3 separate regions of the Homo sapiens genome follow, and all the other regions are linked to region 1. The links are contacts of gene promoters, found by promoter capture Hi-C in blood cells and fetal thymus (Javierre and others, 2016). All regions are on one chromosome and are shown on one strand. Each heading gives the region's core, a stretch centred on a gene start or on the middle of the fragment in contact. The rest is flanking DNA. Distances are from core to core; before and after follow the strand shown. Region 1 holds the start of MOGAT1 (monoacylglycerol O-acyltransferase 1). Region 2 has its middle 13 kb from the start of ACSL3. Region 3 overlaps ACSL3 (acyl-CoA synthetase long chain family member 3).

Region 1 (3,770 bases), core at 1,172-3,671:
TATCTCCTAGTTCCTTCATTGGTAAAATGAGGGTAACGGGTAGTCCTCCCTCACCAGGTTGCTGTGAGGATTACATGAGTTAATACTCTAGGGATCTGGTGGGTGCATAATTCCTATTCTGGGTGATAGACCAGAAACAGCCATTCAACAAGTATTTGTGTATATCTCAAGTATTTGTGTATATCTCAAGTATTCGTGTATATCTTCCATGGGCCAGACATATACTGTGTGTTTCCTCACTAAGCTTGTAGACTAAGACAGCCATAGAGAACTTTCTGAAGTCACCACAGCCATACACAGATACAAGCAATGATAAGTGCCATGAAAGAAAAGAACAGTGGCTATCAGAGATGTGTTGAATGATCGGTTAGGAAGTCGGACTCCAAGTTCAGGCCATTTAAGAGAGCAGTTTAGTGGTTAAAGCAGACACTTTGGGCAGAATACTTGGGTTTGAAACCAGCTCTACCACGTCCTGCTAGCTGCATCGCCTTGAGCAATTTACTTCATCTCTTAGTTCCCTCATCTGTACCAGGAGTGTAGGAATAGTCCTTACCTCACAGGGATGTTGTGAAGATTGCTAGTTAATCGTGGATGTTGCTTAGAACAGCACCTGGCACATACCAAGCGCTAGATAAGGTCGTGTGTTGTTATCTCCATGGTGCTTTGATCCAGAGCAACCCTGCCTCACGGTGTAGTCTGTGAGGACTTAATGAGTTAACACTTTGAATTACATTTTTTTTTTTTTTTGGTAAATTCTACCTAGCAGCACAGGAGAGTCACTCGGAGAGTTCTTAAGAGGAAAAAGGAAAAAAAAAAAGGTGTACAGACTTCATTCTGAAACAAATGACTTAGAAATTCCAGGGATGAGCCGGGCGCGGTGGCTCACGCCTGTAATCCCAGCACTTTGGGAGGCTGAGACAGGCGGATCACCTGAGATTGGGAGTTCGAGACCACCCTGACCAACATGGAGAAACCCCGTCTCTACTAAAAAGACAAAATTAGCCAGATGTGGTGGCACATGCCTGTAACCCCAGCTACTCGGCAGGCTGAGGCAGAAGAATTACTTGAACCCGGGAGGCGGAGGTTGTGGTGAGCCGAGATGGCGCCACTGCACTCCAGCGTGGGCAACAAGAGTGAAACTCCGTCTCAAAGATAATAATAATAATAATAATAATAATAATAATAATAAACAAATTCCAGGATGGAGCCTGGGCATCTGCACTTTTTAGAAGCTTCTCCAGTGATTCTCATCTAGAGCCAGGGTTGAGAACCACTGATTCAGGCTTTCGAAATGTAAAAGCAGTTTTAAAAGTGTAAAACTCTCCAATGCAATGGGCTTATTACTATTATTACCACCCCAACGCTGTACAATCCATGATCTTACAGCATACACATGATCTTAGTCTTCAGAAGAGTTTATGTTTCAATAGAAGGGTCTCCCCCAAATTCCTCCCTCCTCCCACATCACCCCTATTTACTTCAAGAGCAGAACAAATATGAAGGAAAAAACAAAAAACAAAAAGAAAAACCACCCACGTTTTTGCCCCATCTAATGATTCGGCTCGTGTATGTTTCATGGGCTCAACTTGGGAACCAACTGGAACACACACGCTACTGAGTCAAACTATTTCCAGAGAGAAACCGCTCAACCAAATGCAATGAGTGGTGCAGCCTTCTTTACAGAAAGGTACTGCTATGCATCCAGGAAATCTCCAAAACGGGAAAGGGAACACTGCTCTTTGTCAGGAGGGTGGGGAGACAAAGAGGGAGAAGGAACAAGGTTTTAACTACTGAGGCATTACTTTGCCATCTATGAATCAACAGTTCGAGAAACGAGTTTGCCAACTTTTGAGGGGTTAAAGTGCTCATGCGTTCGATGGGGTCATGGTTACATTTTGGTAGATACAGTCGCCAAAAGTCATCGAGCTGTATCCGTATAACTGCGCCTTTTATTGTAGGCAAGGTGCACCTCAATTTAAAAAAGTAACGCAGGAGAAAATAAAATTAAACAGTCGTTAGCGATGAGGTTCTCGTGAGGAAACCAGAGTCCACGTTAGCTCCAAATGCCCTCTTTGACCTGCCTGCTCTGGCCGACAGGGGAACGAGGGTTGGAAGGTTCTATGCAGGTCCTGGAATCCGGACCGTCCCGAGGGAGGATATGGAGCCCAAGCCCCGCGGCCCGGGGGGCGGGGTCCTTACCGAGCAGCAGGTATTTCAGGACCCACTGCAGCACGGCCACCGTCTGCAGCCGCCGCGCCAGCTGGATGTTGAGCGGTGCAAACTCTACCTTCATGGCCTGGCCGGGCGAGGACGGCGCCAGCCACTGCAGCCTGCACCCACGCTGCTCTGCGGCGCCTGTGGGAAGTGCCCGGCCGGATCCGGGCCCCGCGCTGGGCACTGGCTGGGCGGAGAGGAAAAGGCAGAGGCTAGGCAGCGAGCGGGGACCCAACTGCGCCCTGGGTGGGAGGGCGCGCTGGGCTGAGGCTGGGGGCAGCCAATCACAAGCGCCGGGCGCCAGAGCTGGCCCAGCGCCCTGGCCCCGGAGCAGCTACAGCGGCCCGGGCGCATTGGCTGGCGCGCCGGGCGTTGGCGAGAGTGCGCCGCGTGGGACACGAGGGACGGGGAGAGGGGTCAACTGGCAGCCAGCCCGAGCCGGGCAGCGCGGGCTCCTGCCGCCTGGCTGAGGACCTGGGATCTCCACCAGGATCTGACCATTGTTCAGCTGATCGATCACCCAGCGCTTGCCTTCAGCATCCCACCCCTTCATTCGAACCCTCGGTGATTGGGGAAGGGTTAGTTTGAGGAATCGCACACCAGCTGGAGAGATGAGCGAGACTTGTTTCTTAGTTTATTGATCTGTGTCCCCCCGCAACCTCCAATTTCCCCGCGGATGGGGAAGGGGACCTGGCTTCCTCACTCTTGGGTCCTCAGTTCCCTACAGGAGCTCCGGGAATCTTTCACCCATTCATTCATTCAACCCACATTTATTGAGCACTTGCCACTTGCTGAGCACCATCCGGGCGCTTGGATAACCAAGCTGTCAAGCGCATCCGTGTGAAGAGACCACCAACAGGCATTGTGTGAGCAACAAGGCTGTTTATTCACTTAGGTGCAAGTCAGCTGAGTCCGAAAAAGAGTCAGCGAAGGGAGATGGGGAAGGGGTTGCTTTATAGGAGTTGTCTAGGTAATGGAAAATTACAGTAGAAGGTGGTTATCTATTGTTAGCAGAGGAAGGGGTCACAAGGTACAGGGTGGGGAGATCATAAGACTCATTGTCCAGAAGAAGAATGTCACAAAGTCGATTGATCGGCTAAGGTAGGGCAGGGACAAGTCACAATGGTAAAATGTTGTAATGTTGGTTAATCAGTTAAGGCAGGAACTGGCTGTTTTACTTCTTTGCGTTTTTTTTGGCTGCTCCAGGCTTCTTGGCTCCTGCAGGCCACCTGGATGTGTACATGCAGGTCACAGAGGTTATAATGGCTGAGCTTTGGCTCAGAGGCCTGACACAAGCTATTCATTGTCTTGTTCTCAGAGTACAGGGGGAAACAGACATAAGCAAAACAACTACACAATTTGGTGTATAATTACAAGTAAGACCCTACTGTGAATGACTAGAAGATTCCAAAACCAAGACTGCTGCACGGTCAGGGAAGTGTCTGAAGAAGTGCCCTTACTTGAGCTGTAGCCAAATCTAGTTAACCCAGGAGTCATCCGGGCAAAGGGAAGCACATATGCAAAGGTCCTGTGGCTGAACTCCAAGAAGAGCTCAA
Region 2 (4,157 bases), core at 1,059-3,558, 180 kb before region 1:
CTTTTTGTTCTTCCAGTCTCTGTATGTGACTTACTAGCATCTGATGTCTATATCCAAAGTCATAAAATGGCTGCTGGAGCTTTAGCCATCACATCTGTGTTCCAGGCATCAGAAAGAAAGGAGAGGACAATACAAAAGAGATGCAATTCCTAGTAATTCCTTTAAAGAGTTTTTTTTTTTCAACACAACACCTCATCTTACATCACATTGATCAGAATATCACCACATACTAACGAAGCCGGAACATACAATCTCTTAGAAGCACACAATGGCATCTGAAATAAAATCAGGGTTCTGTTACTAACCATGAAGGGGAGAAGAGTTACCGGGTAAGCAACCAACAGTCTCTGCCCTCTTGATAAAGGTAGGGTAGCTGAAGAAAGGCACAATATGTTGGGCGCTGAAAATACTACTTCCCAGAACCTGAAGATAGTTCAAGTTCTTCTTTAGGGCCAGTGAAAGTCCTCTTCTTTGTTTCTCCTTTTGATTTAGAAGTTTGTGACAATACAGAGCAGTTGCTTTTTTTTTTTTTTTTTACATTTTTCTAATAAAGAGCCTTTATATAATTGTGAAATACATAAATGGTTCCTGAGTGTTCTCCAAAATCATTCATATTAATTTCATTTGAAGTTCCTTAGTGAACTTACTTCTCTTTTCTCTAGAACTGCTGTGGCTTCTCTCTATCAATGAAAATATTTGGAAGTCAAGCCTGGATTCAATGTCCTAATTAATTGAACATCAATTCAACAAAATGTAAGTGCCACCAGACAAGAATGCTAGACACTGCAGATATAGCACTTACGGAAACTGAAGAGATTCTGACCCTTAAGGATTTTATATTCTAAGATAAAATCATTATGATAAATAAATAAAAATAGTAAACATTATTATTATTTTTTGAGACAGAGTCTCGCACTGTCGCGGAGCCTGGAGTGCAGTGGCGTGATCTCGGCTCACTGCAAGCTCCGCCTCCCGGGTTCACGCCATTCTCCTGCCTCAGCCTCCTGAGTAGCTGGGACTGCAAGCTCCCGCCACCACTCCCGGCTGATTTTTTTATTTTTAGTATAGATGGGGTTTCACCGTGTTAGCCAAGACGGTCTCGATCTCCTGACCTCGTGATCCACCCACCTCGGCCTCCCAAAGTGCTGGGATTACAGGCGTGAGCCACCGCGCCCGGCAAACAATATTATTTTAAAAGACAATTACAGAATCAAAGTGCTCTTCAGACATTTAAACAGATGACTCGGGAAAAAGAAATAGAGACAATTTTGGGTGGGGAGGTCAGTGAAGGCAAATCAGAGAGGTGACATTTAAGCTCCAATGAGGAAGTGGCTGATATTTATAGTGCGAACAAGATTCCTCCAGCTTTCGAGAGCCTCTGCCAGAGATTAGGAACATATTGTTGTATCCTGTGGACCGGGCCTGACATTTTTAGGAATCCTGCCCTATTTGCAGAATCCATAAATGTAACAAGGAATACAGTCTCATCATCTACAGGTCCATTAGGCATTGAACTCAAATATCAAGCGGTCTGTGAGGCTCCCATGCAAAATTACTCCTCCCATTCTCTCTGTTTTGTTTATGCTATTGGTTAGGTATTGTGTTCTCAGTTATTAGCTATGTTATCAGTTATCTATTGGTTAGGTATCATGTTCTCAGTTATTAGCTATGTTATCAGTTATCTGTTGTTTAGGTAACATGTTATCAGTTAGGTCTCCTTAGGTTACAAGGAACAGAAAATGTAAATTAGACTTGCTTGAGCAAATGGAATTTATTGGCTTACAAAATTAAACAGCCCTGGAGTATATCTGCCTTCAGGGAACACTCGAGACTGGGCTCAAAAATATCAGAAAGACAGACCGGGCACGGTGGCTCATGCCTGTAATCCCAGCACTTTGGGAGGCTGAGGTGGGTGGATCACTTGAGGTCAGGAGTTCGAGACCAGCCATGGCTAACATGGTGAAACCCCGTTTCTAATAAGAATACAAAAAATTAGCCGGGCGTGGTGGCGCATTCCTGTAATCCCAGCTGTCAGGCCTCTGAGCCCAAGCCAAGCCATCGCATCCCCTGTGACTTGCACATATACATCCAGATGGCCTGAAGTAACTGAAGATCCACAAAAGAAGTAAAAATAGCCTTACCTGATGACATTCCACAATTGTGATTTGTTCCTGCCCCACCCTAACTGATCAATGTACTCTGTAAACTCCCCCACCCTTAAGAAGGTACTTTGTAATCTCCTTCACCCTTAAGAAGGTTCTTTGTAATTCTCCCCACCCTTGAGCATGTACTTTGTGAGATCCAGCCCTGCCCGCAAAACATTGCTCTTAACTTCACCGCCTATCCCAAAACCTGTAAGAACTGATGATAATCCACCAGCCTTTGCTGACTCTCTTTTCGGACTCAGCCCGCCTGCACCCAGGTGAAATAAACAGCCATGTTGCTCACACAAAGCCTGTTGGGTGGTCTTTTCACACGGACGCGCATGAAACCAGCTACTCGGGAGGCTGAGGCAGGAGAATCACTTGAACCCAGGAGGCAGAGGTTGCAGTGAGCCAAGATTGTGCCATTGTATTCCAGCTTGGGCAACAAGGGCAAAACTCTGTCTCAAAAAAAAAAAAAGAATCAGAAAGAACAGCTTTGTCTGTCTGTTCCACAGATCGGTTTCCTTGGTGTTGGTGTTTGCTCCAGCCTGAGGTCCCCATGTCAGAAAGATGGCTAGAAGCCCCTTCAGACTCCTATCTCACTGGAAATTCAGAGTCTCTTCCCAGAAATCTTATTTCTTTTGAGAGATTATGTGTCCCTCCTCACTCAATCTTTTTTTTTTTTTTTTTTTCTCTTTGAGATGGAGTCTCACTTTGTCACCAGGCTGGAGTGCAGTGGCACAATCTCAGCTCACTGCAACCTCCCCTTCCCAGGTTCAAGCGATTCCCCTACCTCAGCCTCCCAAGTAGCTGGGACTATAGACACGCACCACCATGGCCAGCTATTTTTTTTATTTTATTTTACTAGAGACAGGATTTCACCATGTTGGCCAAGATGGTCTCGATCTCCTGACCTCGTGATCCACCTGCCTTGGCCTCCCAAAGTGCTGGGATTACAGGCATAAGCCACCACGCCCGGCCGTCACTCAATCTTTCTGTCTGTCTCAGCCTAACTCACTTGCTCCACCACTGGATTCTAGGGAGGGTGGAGTTCAGCCATGCACACCCCAAAACAGAGAGGGAATGTAGCTGGGGAGGCAGGTGTGAATTCGCCACAGGAAAAATACAGTTATCAGTAGAAAGGTGAAGTGGAACAAAATATCAGATGGCACCACCCTGAGCTTAGTACTTCTTGTGCTGTATTACTGTCCGTTGTGTTTATTTCCTTCTGTAACACAATGATAAGCTGTTTGAGAACAAGGAGCACATCACTTTCATTTCTTTATCCCTAAGATCCATCCAATGTGGTGATTGGTACAATGTCTCTCCCAATACACAGTTGTTGAATTCAACTATGAAAACTGTGCATACACGCACATGTTCAGAGGGGTACATACACCAATGTTGGCTAAACATTTAAATATCTCACAAGACATCAAACTGTTTCTTAAAAGTTTAACTGAAAAACTATCCTCATGCTACATATACTTCAGTGATTTCTTCTGCGATATTTTCAGTTTGTTATTCTTTCTACAATGAGTTTATTCCTATATGTTTTTTCTTATTAATATTTCAGAGGGATAGTTTTCTGTTTGTTTGTTTGTTTGTTTTGATACAGGGTCTCACTCTATCACCCAAGCTAGAGTACAGTGGTACCATCTCGGCTCACTGCAACCTCTGCCTCCCAGGTTCAAGCAATTCTCCCTGTGCCTCAGCCTCCCAAGTAGCTGGGATTACAGGCATGCACCACCATGGGCAGCTAATTTTTGCATTTTTAGTAGAGATGGGGTTTTGCCATGTTGGCCAGGCTCGTCTCAAACTCCTGGCTTCAAGTGATCCACGTGCCTCAACCTCCCAAAGTGGTGGGATTACAGGGGTGAGCCACCATGCCTAGCCCTTAATCACATATTTCAATCCACGTTTAATCTTCATAAATCTTCTAGTTCCTTGGTAGTCAAAGTGTGCTGCATGGAACAGCAGAATTAGCATCAGCATCATCTGGAAGCATATTAA
Region 3 (4,185 bases), core at 1,686-4,185, 220 kb before region 1:
GGGGGGGTCAGCCCCCCGCCCGGCCAGCCGCCCCGTCCGGGAGGGAGGTGGGGGGATCAGCCCCCCGCCTGGCCAGCCGCCCCGTCCGGGAGGTGAGGGGCGCCTCTGCCCGGCCGCCCCTACTGGGAAGTGAGGAGCCCCTCTGCCCGGCCAGCCGCCCCGTCCGGGAGGGAGGCGGCGGGGGGGGGGGTCGGCCAGCCGCCCCGTCCGGGAGGGAGGTGGAGGGGTCAGCACCCGCCCGGCCAGCCGCCCCGTCCGGGAGGGAGGTGGGGGGGTCAGCCCCCCGCCCGGCCAGCCGCCCCATCCGGGAGGTGAGGGGCGCTTCTGCCCGGCCGCCCCTACTGGGAAGTGAGGAGCCCCTCTGCCCGGCCACGACCCCGTCTGGGAGGTGTGCCCAGCGGCTCATTGGGGATGGGCCATGATGACAATGGCGGTTTTGTGGAATAGAAAGGCGGGAAGGGTGGGGAAAAAATTGAGAAATCGGATGGTTGCCGGGTCTGTGTGGATAGAAGTAGACATGGGAGACTTTTCATTTTGTTCTGTACTAAGAAAAATTCTTCTGCCTTGGGATCCTGTTGATCTGTGACCTTATCCCCAACCCTGTGCTCTCTGAAACATGTGCTGTGTCCACTCAGGGTTAAATGGATTAAGGGCGGTGCAAGATGTGCTTTGTTAAACAGATGCTTGAAGGCAGCATGCTCCTTAAGAGTCAGCACCACTCCCTAATCTTAAGTACCCAGGGACACAAACACTGCGGAAGGCCGCAGGGTCCTCTGCCTAGGAAAACCAGAGACCTTTGTTCACTTGTTTATCTGCTGACCTTCCCTCCACTATTGTCCTATGACCCTGCCAAATCCCCTTCTGCGAGAAACACCCAAGAATGATCAATAAAAAAAAAAAAAAAAAAAAAAAAAAAAGAACAAAGTAATGGTAACAGGCCAGGACAAAAGAGGTTCTTTTGTTTTTAACATAAATAGTAGAGCTTGTCTGCAGACTGATAGCTATGAACCAGCAGAGGAAAGTATTATGCAGAAGAGAGCCACACCTCTGGAGGAGGAGAGAGGGTGGGAGAAACAGGGACACAGATGTGCAGGAATAGGAGCTTGCAGAAGATTTTCTTCTGGGTGCTTCTATTTTCTCAGAGTAATAAGCAAAATCATTGGATGTGAGGGAGGCAGAAAGGAAGGTATTAGAAAATTAAGGAGAAAGTATAAAATAGTCATCTAGGAGAGTGGCAGAATGAATGGTCATGGAAAAGGAATAGCAAAGGCAGGCTGGAGTATGAAATAATAAGACCACAGTGTTAGAACGATATTGAAATCACTAAGAATCACGACAGAGTAGTGTCAGGGTCACAGGAAGACATATTTACAGATTTGGGGATGAGTAGTTAACTGCAACTAGTAGTAACATAGTCTGAAGATAAAACTTGGAAAGACACACACACACACCTGGGAGACATGGCAGTACTGTTTCAGTGGCAAAAAACCAAAAATAGAAAATGATCTAAAGATTCATTAATCAAAGAATGCCTGAAAAACATATATACCCATTGAACAGACTATTATGCAGCCATTAAAAGTAAGCTACATGTACATGCATTGACCTAGAAGAACTTCTATGATACCTTGCCAACTGAGAAGAATGTATACACGGGCATGCCTGGCTTCATGCCTGACTACAGAAAAAGATATAGGCAAGTCAAGGTTTTTAAGAAATTATCCCTGAATATTTAAATGCAGGTCTAAGTCCATTAATCTTTCACCATGAAGAATTTAACAACTCCCAACTTCACTAAACTCTCACAACTGCTAATTAAAATAACAAGATGAATTAAGTTTAACAGCATTAAAAGAAAATGACCTATTACTACTTATACAATAAAGATGAGCAAACAAAATCTTGAAATATAAAATTGTGTGATAAATAGCTAGGTTCAAACACTTGAAATGTGTTTTTTAAAATGTTCTATGCCAATGGTCAGTTGCATTAGATCAAAGAGTTATTTACATCTTATATTTTAATTAGCAATTGTTTTAAATCAGAATGATCAAGCACAAGGAAGATCTCTTCTCTGTATGACCTCTATTATTTGAGAGGAAGAACACAGGTGACTTGGAAAGACTGAAGGAAAAGGAGACCAGACAGGATTTTGTGTTATTCAGATCTTGTGTTATGAAACAAATGTAAGTAAAGTAACGGAGCTTAACCATCAGCCAGGAAATCACTTTCAAATGATATACTTCCAAAAGGTATGAAGTGGATGTTAAAATAAAATTTTATGTTAAAAATTGCTATTAAATAATATTATTAATATCATAGTCAAATGCCCTGTAACAACTCCCAATTTTTCAAAACAAAAATTGCTACAAATGCTCATATGAAAGCTTCTTGCCGGGAGCGGTGGCTCATGACTGTAGTCCCAGCTACAATGGAGGCTGAGGTGGGAGGATCTCTCCAGCCCAGAGGTTGAGGTTGTGGTGTGCTGTGATCACACCAAAGCACTCCAGCCTGAGCAACAGAGCAAGACTTTGTGAAAAGACAAAGTCAGAAAGAAAGAAACCCTGTGAGAAAAAACAACCCTGTGAGGTGAGAAGAGGCAGAGGAGGGATGGGGAGAGGTGGGAAGGGAAGGAGAGGGAAAGGAGGCGGAAAGCGGGGGAAGGGAGAGGAGAGAAAAGAAGAGAAGAGAGAAGGAAGAAAAAGAGAAAAGAAAAGAGAAGGAAGAAAATCTTCTATCAGAGATGACGTGTTTTCCTAAGAGAAAAACAGGAAAAAAGTAGGTTGCCACAGGGATCACTTTCAGACTAACGTATCAAATGGTTCTACCTGCTTAGATCTGGGGTTTCAAGAATCTCTTAGGCGCAAGAGAGATACAACATGGTAACTCAACCCAAAATTGGCAGACCTGTGAAATTAACCTCCACAAAACTCATGGACTGAACAAAGAAAACAGGAGTCACTCTCAGAATCTAAGACATGTACACTGTCTAAGGAGGGAAGAAGTCAACAATGGTATTATATTCACACCCTACTGACAGAGCAAGCAGACATTTTATGCCCCTCACATCCACCACCATCATGAAAAGGAATCTGAAAACTCAACTTGCAGAGCAGGCAGAGAGCCCCAACACTTAGAAATGCTCCCACAAAGTCAAAGGCAGCAGAGGATGAGGACAGGGGGAAGAGAGGACAGAAAAGGAGAAAATACTGCAGACGGTGCATCTTGATATGCCACAATTTACTTCTCAGTTAATCCTGCCCACCACTCAATCTGATTTCCTCCTCTGTATTTTTCTTTCAGCCTACCACACTCAGGCACCAATACTATACAACTGTTCATATCTGCAAATAACAATAATAATAATATGGCTTAGCATTTTATCTCTAATGAAGTATAAATGAGTGGCTTGCACAATGCTGGATATCAAGGAATCCGTATTTGCTAGTATGAAATGTGGCTGGAATTTTTCACCAAGCTTGCAATAAATGGGAAACAATTCTGAGTGCAGGCAAACAAGCACAGTGAAGGGAACTTTTTATGTTATCTCATTTAATTCTCACAAAACCCAATTTCAAATAGATTGTCCCCAAAGGCACTTACAGCTAGCAGGTAAGGTAGGATATTAACCTACATGTCTCTCCAAGGCATGTCCAAACTTTTTAATGACCCTATACTCTCTTAATAAATTCTATAGTTAATACCTTATTGTTGGGGAGAAAAAAGTATCCTTTAATACACTACTTTTGAGAGTCTCCTTTCCACAAAAGTTAGGTGACAGTCATACACACTCTACAGAGACTTAAGAGTCCCAGATGAATGACGCAAATCATGTATTATGAAATAGGAAACCAGGGTCAAGAAGGGCAGAAAGAACTATTTCCTACCCAGAATTAATCTCTCAGAGTTATAATGGAAAGTGCAACCAGAGACTATTATTTACTATCGGGAAAGAGTTTCTTTTTTAGAGGGGCACCCTGGTTCTCACAAACATGTTTGCTTCTCAGGCATCCAAAGCTAAACACATAATAAAAATACATACCTAGATACCTAGTTCAAGAGAATGGTTTTAAAACATTTACTTACTATATATCCTGCTGCCTCCCTCCCGAAAAAAAGCAGACCTAAAAGTAGGACAGTTGTTTTAAATTCTTACAAATATCAACAACACACAGACTAACTTAT

Evidence for each region. The method cuts DNA at HindIII sites, captures the fragments that hold promoters and counts their contacts. A CHiCAGO score of 5 or more calls a contact.
Region 2: a fragment that was not itself captured here is called in contact with the fragment with the promoter of MOGAT1 in region 1 in 1 of 17 cell types (neutrophils); the score reaches 6.9 in neutrophils.
Region 3: a fragment that was not itself captured here is called in contact with the fragment with the promoter of MOGAT1 in region 1 in 10 of 17 cell types (M0 macrophages, total B cells, naive B cells and 7 more); the score reaches 8.2 in M0 macrophages.

The regions. Positions count from the first base shown.
Region 1 is chr2:222,670,309-222,674,078 of GRCh38, reverse strand. It overlaps MOGAT1 (monoacylglycerol O-acyltransferase 1), which reads right to left and starts at 2,421. Exons shown (of 6, transcript NM_058165.3): 1 at 2,200-2,421. The coding sequence starts at 2,293. It overlaps LOC124907985 (a long non-coding RNA gene), which reads right to left. Exons shown (of 2, transcript XR_007088095.1): 2 at 3,077-3,443. The HindIII fragment of the contact is 3,409 bases long and covers 1,235-3,770 here.
Region 2 is chr2:222,846,253-222,850,409 of GRCh38, reverse strand. No RefSeq gene overlaps it. Among named protein-coding and RNA genes, the nearest start is that of ACSL3, 13 kb to the left of the region's middle. The HindIII fragment of the contact is 5,305 bases long and covers 1-4,157 here.
Region 3 is chr2:222,892,203-222,896,387 of GRCh38, reverse strand. All of the region lies in intron 2 of ACSL3 (acyl-CoA synthetase long chain family member 3), which reads right to left. Among named protein-coding and RNA genes, the nearest start is that of ACSL3-AS1, 25 kb to the left of the region's middle. RefSeq lists a silencer at 920-1,120. The HindIII fragment of the contact is 1,091 bases long and covers 2,390-3,480 here.